Linked DNA regions of Homo sapiens: region 1 is linked to region 2. The links are contacts of gene promoters, found by promoter capture Hi-C in human tissues and cell types (Jung and others, 2019). All regions are on one chromosome and are shown on one strand. Each heading gives the region's core, a stretch centred on a gene start or on the middle of the fragment in contact. The rest is flanking DNA. Distances are from core to core; before and after follow the strand shown. Region 1 overlaps FAM91A1 (family with sequence similarity 91 member A1). Region 2 holds the start of TATDN1 (TatD DNase domain containing 1).

Region 1 (4,537 bases), core at 1,691-4,190, 750 kb after region 2:
TCAAAAATTTGCCCAGGCAATACCGAAACAAGTTATTAACCTCAGTCTTGGTTGAGTTCCCAATTTTACTACATCTATGGAGATAGAAATTACTTCAACTAAGACTAACAATTTTAGCAATTGAATAATGCTAAGTTATAGCATTATATGTTACATGTTCCAAATGATTCAAATAGAGTGCTTAAACAACTCTAAAACCCGTATTCTGCTCCATCTAGGAAAGTACTCCAAGGTCACCAGTTTTACCTATAATTCTCATAACTTTGTTCACAATTCTGTATTACCAGTTACAAGAGACACTGGAGTCTGTGATTCAACATAGCTGTTCACCATTGCTGAACACACAGCTTAAATTCACTCAACAAAGATTTACTTAGTGCCTCCTATGGACTATGACCTCCCTAGGAGATAAGGATAGAGTAATGGACAAAACCCCTGCCTTCACTGGCCTTATAGTTTAATGTATGCTCTTCTGAATAAGTCTGAATAAGTCACCTTTTAATAAGTAGAGACATATATCCCAGAAACAACACAGAAAATGGAATGATAGGTCTACCAACGGGAAAATAACTAAATCAGATTTGCATACATTTAAGAAATCAATCTTAAGATCAAACTACTTAAAAAATAGCTAAGAATCCACTTTAAAAACTAAGCCTCAGACTGAAAGGCTTTCCCAAGAATGACTTTGTGATGAAAAAGAACATAGATTTATGAGTAAAAGAGCAGAAGTCAACTTGCAATTTGCTACATTTGATAAAAGACTAGCTGAGGTGAAAAAAAGATAAAAATCAGAAAACCAGAACTTGAAATGTGCAGTAACATAGTAAGAAATTTATTAGTAGAAGATAATATACAATAAGAAATGGGGTTAACAAATAAAGAAGCATGAAGAAATAAATGGCAGTATAAAGGTAAAAGTAAAAGAGACCAATTAATAGCAAAGGATTATCTCACACATATTTCTGCACTAATAAAAGTAAAAATCCTATGGAGTAGGAGCAGTGAAAAATGTTACAGTCTTTTTTTTTTAAGATATAAAGGAGTTGCAGAATCACCACAAATTCTCTAAACAGTGCATTGAAAATACAAAGTTCATCATAAAGCACAAAAGGCACGAAAAGTATTAGTCAAGGAACAGATTAGGCACACAAACTATTTGAATACAAAGAGGCCAGAATAAAATATCCGAAGAATGAAAAACACCAATAAAGGGCAATCAGATTTATTTAGAGCTAAGGAAAACTAGGGCTGTACTCACGGGGAAAAAGGTGGTTAAGAGCAAATATGGCTGAAGTCTTCAAGATGCTAAAAGGGATAGTGAGAGCGGACATAAATATGATACCCAGGGATATTGTTCCAGATTCAAGGTAAATGGAACAAAAACTTCAAATCAAACTGCTTAAGAGGTGATCTTAGAGAGTCATACCAGAAAAAAAATTGAAAGGCTATTTTAGCAAAAATTCAACTTAAAACATTACAGACTAAAATTTCTATACCCCATTTCTTCATTATCTCAAATTATGTTAAGAATTAGATGAGGTAGACATATCACTTTAAAAATCACAAAATCAATTCACCCACTCAATATGTTTAAGTCTAAATGACTGTAAGAGTACTAATTTGGGGAATGAGGTAGGAACGAGCAAGAATACACTGAAAGCCCATCCAAATCAACAGACTGTATAATTGGCATTCTGTCAAGCAAGGACAGATTCCAAATGCCCTAACATCCCCTTACATGCAATCTACATTTACCTTTTCTAGTTCTATAAGAAAGCTGTCCAGAGACTCATCTGAGAGTTTGCCTACTTCAAACATTGTGACTGCATGACTTTTCAAGTTCTGAAAAAAAGAAACAAAATATTAAAGTTCTACTTCTCCCTTTTTATGCTAAGCATACTATCAAATATTTATATTATCCTTTCAAATATATTTAAACTTAAGGATTGGGGGGTGAGGGGCTAATTCTTCCAATTACAAAAGGACCTTCCCTGAAAGTTATTATACTCCTCTAAGTCAGTTGTGCTTCGGGAATAAATGTAGTACTTTAAAAAAGATATAAAAGCATTAAATTATTTTATATCTAGTATTTATTTTAAACACCTTCATATTTAAACAAGAATTGGGCTTACTGGTGAAAGATTTCCCATCATTAAGAAGGCAGTAAGAGTGGAGTCAAACAGGAATGCGATGCGCTTCGTGTGTCCTGTAGACAGACTCAGGCTGCTTACACTGGCTGTGTCAGCTGAAAAACACCATAATTTAAAATCAAGTAAATGGAAATTATTCTTTGCTTACCATTTGGAGTGAAAGTATTTCATTTCAGCTTTATTTGATAACCAGAAAGTACATAATTTTAAAAAGGCACTATTATAGCCATAAGAAGTTCCAGCCATACCTATTTTGAAGCGCAAAGAATATTAAAAAGCATTTAACCCTAGGCCTTGTCCACTATGCTGTGTTTCCCTTTGGGCTTAGCCTCACTATTCTCTCGGGCTGAAATGGCTTTCCTTCCCTGACCAGCTGGCAGGCTCTTCTTCATTCTTAGCTCAAATAACATCTTCTCTGTGAAGGCTTCCCAAACCTCTCTAGCCAATTAAGGGTCTCTTCCTCTTTGCACCCTACAAGCATTATAATTGGTGCCCGTGTTGTTGTAATTTGTTTGGTCACATTCCCTTCTCTCTCCTTAGACTTAATTCTTAGAAGAAAGGTACCATATTCTTGTCAGTTTTATATACCTAGGACTTAGCACAGTGCCCAAAATATAGTAAAACACTCAAAGACTGCGTATTGAATAAAATCTAAACTAAAATTAGAAGGTAACTGTAAGAGTGTATGTTTGGACATGTGCCGTACCTACAGACAGACTCTATGTTAAACTGAGTTACTGCTAACCTGGATCTTCTTGACTATTTGTATCAGTGTCAGTTGCCGATGAAGCTTCTTGTACAGGACTCCTACTTTCCCCTCCATCCCATGACAAGAGCATCTTCTGTGGATCTAAGGTACTCCTATTAATGAAGAATGCATTTGCTTTTTAAAAATCATATAAATGACCTTACATTAAAATATCTACTGAAGTTAAGACTTAAATTATGAACAATCCATCAAAATTCAGTCTTATATTCAAGCCCAAAATTAAGTCGCAGCCCAAAAATGCTCTGCCTACATACAACAAGGGTTCTTAACTAAGATCCACGGATAGGCTTCAGAAAATTCAAGAACCCTTCAAGATTTTATGTAAAATATTTATTTGCTTTTTTTCTGGGAAAAGCCTTCTTAGTTTTCATTATATTCCAAAAAAGATCTGTAACACACACACAAGATTAAAAATCACTAATATAAAGGGCTCACCTCAACTGACAGGTTGAATAAATAAAATTTCTGGGCCAGGTGCAGTGGCTCACACCTGCAATCCCAACACTTTGGAAGGCCAAGGTGGGTGGATCAGTTGGGGCCAGGAGTTCGACACCAGCCTGGCTAACATGGTGAAACCCCACCTCTAACAGAAACACAAAAAATTAGCTGGGCATGGTGGTGCACACCTATAGTCCCCACTACTCAGGAGGCTGAGGCATGAAAATCGCTTGAAACGGGGAGGTGGAGGTTGCAGTGAGCCGAGATCGCGCCACCGCACTCCAGCCTGGATGACAGAGAGAGACTTTGTCTCAATAAATAAATAAATAAATAAATTTATGTATGTAAAATTAAATGTCTTTTCAAAAGGAAACTCTAATAGCTCATACTGAATAAATTTAAGTTACTTTAATCTGTTTACGGATGGAACATTCTTCCATGATGAATGAAGTTGATCCAAATTAATTACTTGTCCCTTCTTATGGGCAAAGCCCAATCGGCAATACATTGAAACAGCATTCTGAAAGGAATATAAAGGAAACTAATTACCATTTAAAATAAACTAGACATCACAATATTTGTAGAGAAAAAATAGTGTAATAGACTAATAGTGATTCTCAAACATTTTCATCCCGTAACCAGAAACTATTTTCAGTAGACCTGCTCCTCCCTTGAAGTCTTCATAAATGTATAGGAGGGAATGTTTCCAACTCTCTGGCCTTGCCCTCCCTACATCTACCCCTAATGAAGCAGGAGTTGTTGCTTTAACGGACCTCACTACAAGATACTGCTTGGGCTGCTTCTTGCATGAGTGCTCTCTTTTCAGTCCATGTGTTTGAATCCCAATTTAGGGCCCCTTTTCCTGCTCTTTCCTGTCTTTGCAAGTGCCCCTTTACTGTGCACGTTCTCTCAGACAGCTAACAACAATCTCAATGTCTTCGTTTCTCAGTAGCTTATCAAGATAAAAATCTACTAGTAAAATCCACTCAGTTATCACATCACCAGTAAATGAGTATAAAAATAACATACCTTAACCAGGGATAAGTCAATCTCAAGGACATTTGCAAGCTAGAAGATAAAATTAAAATTTATTTTTACATTCTTAGAATTAACAGCACATTACACAGTTGTAATAGACCAATATAATCATAATCAGCAAAATTTTAAGTTATGAATA
Region 2 (4,364 bases), core at 223-2,722:
TTATTGTACCTATTTATGGGGTACATGTGATATTTTAATACATCCATATAATGTATAATGATCAAATCAGGGTAATTTGGATATTCATCACCTCAAACATTTACCATTTGTGTTGGGATACCTGAATCCCTGATGGCTCAACTTCCTTCATCATCGATTTGTTTACATGTCCATTTTCCCCACTAATCCGTGAGCTGCTGCTGCTCAAAAATGGATTTACTAACATTTATATATTTAGCATAGAGCATAGAATCTGAATTGCAAATTCTGTCAAATCAATAAATAAATAAGGAAAACTCAAGGAAGAAACTAACAATCCCATCACATTGTACTTGGCCATCTTCCTGCCAAATCAAGAGAAGTATGTCAGTGATTTTCTAATAGTCACATATATGCAATCTGGGCTTCGAGGGTACCCTCTGTAATTCTTCCAGGCCTACTCCATTTTCCATAGAGTTTTTTTCCCAGAAGGCCTTCTTATAAAACTACGTTTGGAGAGTCGTAAGACTGGAGTGGAGGCGAGGCACTCACACATCTTGGGTTGTTAGCCCACCCTGCAATGAATTTAGGTGATTAAAATCTACACATTTTAACACTATGTTCTCAGACTAGTCTCAGACGGATAGAGGTCGAAAGAGAATTATGTAAGAGGTGAAAAAGATGTAAAGGTAATGAAAAGGACTAGATGAAGCTAAAAAGAGAAAAGCTAATGGGAGGGGTGGGAGAATGATGATGCTTTGGAGAAAGACCTAAATTTTAACCCTGGCTCAGACACTTAGAAACTCTATCACCTTGCGCAAGTTACCAGCTGTGCTCATCTTCTTATCTGTAAAATAAGCTTAAGATAATTCCTAACTCCTAGAGTTTTGCAGACTGAAGAAAATAATGCATAGTTTATTGCTGTTAATATTGGAAAGGAGAAGATCGTGAAGAAAACGATTGAGCGAGCGCTGGACCCATGACAATTACAATTTTAGGCACTTTCCTTTATTTCACTTAATTTTCCTGCGACCCTCTGCGCTGGTCGTGCGTCCGTTTTACTAAACAAAAAGCTGACGCCCAGACCCGACAAGCAACTCTACAAGGTCTCCCGGCCATAAGTGGCGAAGCCTGGATTTGAACCCGGGTCTACCATAGGATTCTGTGAAGCGAGAGGCCACCTTCCAATTCCGTTCCCGAAGTCCTTGAACCTCCAGGTACCCAGGGGCCTCTCCACCTCCATGGGGCCCCGAGGGTCACCTCCCCGAGTCCTGGGTCCCCATCCCTTACCTCTGGACGCACCACGACTCGAGGTGGCGTAGCGCCCGCTTATAAAGCCGCAACACCTTTTGCTGATGGGTCAGGTAGGGTCCCGACGCCAAGAACGCCATTACGGCGCTGACCTTCCCCGGCCGCGCGGAGAGCCGGGAAACTGCACGCCTGCTGCGGGTGACTGAGCGGGGCCAGCCGGAAGGGCGGAGTTGCCGGCGGCCACTTCCGCTTCCGCTGGGGAGGTCCTCCATGCGCAGTCATGAGTCGCTTCAAGTTTATCGGTAAGAGGAGCGTTTTCCACGCCCTTGGGTCTTTCTGACTTGTCCCGGGCGTCGGTCACCAAGGTCACAGGACCCAGGAATTGCGCCCTCCGGCATTGTAAGGGTTGAAAGGGCCGCTCAGTGGAGGAGGGCGCGGGGAGGTTTCTGGGTGCTGGTAATGCTCTGGTTCTTGATCTAGGTTCTGGATTCACGAGGGTGTATTTATTTGTAAAAATTAACAAGCCGTACAGTTATGATTTTTGTGCTGTTTTCAACATCTGTAATGTATTCAGTTTTTTAAGAAGAAAACTCCAAAAAGGCCAATCACTATGTTTCCATTCATCCCACGTGCACCTCCCGGCCCTTCCCCTCTGCCTTGGCGGAGAGGCTGACCGCTTCTGGGGACCAATTCACTCAAGCATTCATTCGTTCATATCATAGTTAGTGAGCGCCTCAAGTGGGCCTGGCACTGGCCTAGGAACACAGGGCACAAAGCTCCCAGTTGTACTGTCATCACCATCTGGTGGAGAAACTAGAAAACACAAGTAATGGGGAGAAAAACAAACTGTACTTGGCAAGTACAATGATCCAGTCGGCATCAGTAGAACGAGAGGGAGAATGCTGCGGGATTTAAATGGGCATGATCCTCGTTTTGTGGGGTTTCCAGCTACCTGAAGGTGGGAAATGACAGTGATCACACCTCTGCTTTAGCAAGGTAATCCTGATAGCTATTATGTAGGTTTTGTGGGAAATAGGGAGAGGTAGGGAAGCATTTCAAGAGCTTAAACTAGGGTAATGGAAAAGAGAGAGAAATGGAAGAGATGTGTGCAGCATTTAGCAGCTGAGTGTTCATGGCCGGTAGTAGAGAGTGAACAAAGATGACTCAGGGTTTGGAAAAGTACTTAAATATGAAATGGAAGCATGACTAGTTTGGCGGTGAAGAGAGGTACCCAGGTCCATTTGGATTAGGTTAAGTTTGAGATAATTATAGGACATCCAGGTAGAGATATCTGGGCAATTGGGAATGTGGTCTGGCAATCAAGAGATTAGGATTATACATTTAGATCTGAGAGTTATTTAAGCAGTATTTTTTTTTTTCAAAGACGTTGTGCTAAGTCCTGTGGAACTGTAAAATCTAGTGGTGCAGTTTTCAGACTGGAGACCTAAGACCTATGTACTGTACAGTCAAAAGCAAATGCAGGGGAGAATATGTTAAGTGCCAGGAAAAAGGTTTTGAAATTGCTGTGGGAAAGCCTGGAGTAGGGGTTTGGGGAGGGGTTGTCAAATAAGACATTGCCGTGTCTTAGCCTTTCCATCCTAACCTTTGATATAATTGATGAGGGAGATGGAATAAAGAGCCATGAAGTACTCCGTAAAGAAAGGCCACATAACTTTTTAAAAGTGTGTTTATGTTATACAACCAAATTCCTGCCTCAAGTTAATGTCTTAAATCCATCCTCCATGTAGACTCCATTTTGGTGTATCTAAAAATCAAATCAGCTAAATGTTTCTTTTGCTTCAAATCTTTCATTTACGCTCCTCAGGATAGCCTAAATGCTTACACACCATACAAAGCCCTTCTGTGGTCCAGTCCTGCCCACTTTTCTAGCCCATCCCTGGGCTGCTCTATAAACACTTGTGCATGCTGTTTGTTACCTCTGACAAGGTTTTAGAGTGGCAGTTTGGGGCCAAAATATTCCTCTGCCTACCAACTACCCTGTTGCCTGTCTGCCTACTCACTCCTTAAAACTTATACCACATTATTTATAATTAAATATGAGTATGCCTTTCCCACTAGATCAAACTCTTAAGGCAGATACTGGTATGGTATTTATATTTTTTTCCTAGGGGCGTAGTACAATGACTGTTTGGGAAAGTATGAATGAGTGGCTTTAGTGCTAAGGTGATAAGAAAATTAGTAAAGGGATTAGCATCAGATAAAATAAGCAAGAAAAGACTTCTTAAAGAAGGTGACTTTATTGGAATAAATAATTGAAATAAATTTTTTTCTGTATGGTTTCCTTTAGCCCCACTCTCCTAAAGTAACCATATTAAAAGTTTGAAGTATAGCCTTCCCTAATTTTTTAATAGATTGTTATACAGATTCATAAAAATACAACATATCAAGGTTTTTTTTTTTCCTTTTGAAACAGAAATGAGATCATATTATGCATTCTATCCTTGGTATATGACTTACTCTGATATTTAATCTTTCAGTTTGTGTCATTTAAAAAATTCTGCCCATGAATCGCTAGACTAATTTCTTAGCCTAATAATGAGTTCTGAACAATATTTTGAAAAACATCATATTAAATCCCTGGAACAAGCTTCACATGGGACAATTGCATGAAAAATTGAACCCATTTTATGAAAATTACCTTAGATTTTGGTTTAAGACAGCTGACCATTGTAATTCTTTCTACATTTCTCTCTTTTCTACTTGCATAACAAGTGGCTGCCCCTTAGAACTATACCCCAACAGTGGGGGTTTTTGTTTGTTTTGAGACAGGGTCTTGCTCTGTCACCTAGGCTGGAGTACAGTGGCTTAGATCATGGCTCCAGCATTGACCTCCTAGGCTCAAGTGATCTTCCTGCCTCATCCTCCCAAGTAGCTGAGACTAGAGGTGCTCACCACCATACCAGGCTAATTTTTTTTTGTAGACCACTGTGTCCTGCTATGTTGCTCAGGCTGGTCTTGAATTGCTGGCCTTAAGCAGTCCTTCCACCTCCGCCTCCCAAAGTTCTGGGATTACACGTGGAGCCACTGGCCAGCATGAGAATTTCTTTAGCCCAGCTTATACTCTCTTTTCTGTCTCCACAAGTGGAATTCTATTCCCTGGGTGTTATTTACAA

Evidence for each region. The method cuts DNA at HindIII sites, captures the fragments that hold promoters and counts their contacts. A contact is called where the count stands out against the background at its distance.
Region 1: a contact is called between a fragment that was not itself captured here and the fragment with the promoter of TATDN1 in region 2, in 1 of the 25 tissues and cell types used here (spleen).

What each region holds. Positions count from the first base shown.
Region 1 is chr8:123,784,972-123,789,508 of GRCh38, reverse strand. It overlaps FAM91A1 (family with sequence similarity 91 member A1), which reads right to left. Exons shown (of 24, transcript NM_144963.4): 10 at 4,390-4,428; 11 at 3,768-3,880; 12 at 2,899-3,014; 13 at 2,136-2,248; 14 at 1,759-1,845. Among named protein-coding and RNA genes, the nearest start is that of FAM91A1, 19 kb to the right of the region's middle. The HindIII fragment of the contact is 4,773 bases long and covers 554-4,537 here.
Region 2 is chr8:124,536,193-124,540,556 of GRCh38, reverse strand. TATDN1 (TatD DNase domain containing 1) reads left to right here and starts at 1,472. Exons shown (of 12, transcript NM_032026.4): 1 at 1,472-1,532. The coding sequence starts at 1,511. It overlaps NDUFB9 (NADH:ubiquinone oxidoreductase subunit B9), which reads right to left and starts at 1,434. Exons shown (of 4, transcript NM_005005.3): 1 at 1,270-1,434. The coding sequence starts at 1,370. RefSeq lists an enhancer at 1,542-1,611. The HindIII fragment of the contact is 5,555 bases long and covers 1-4,283 here.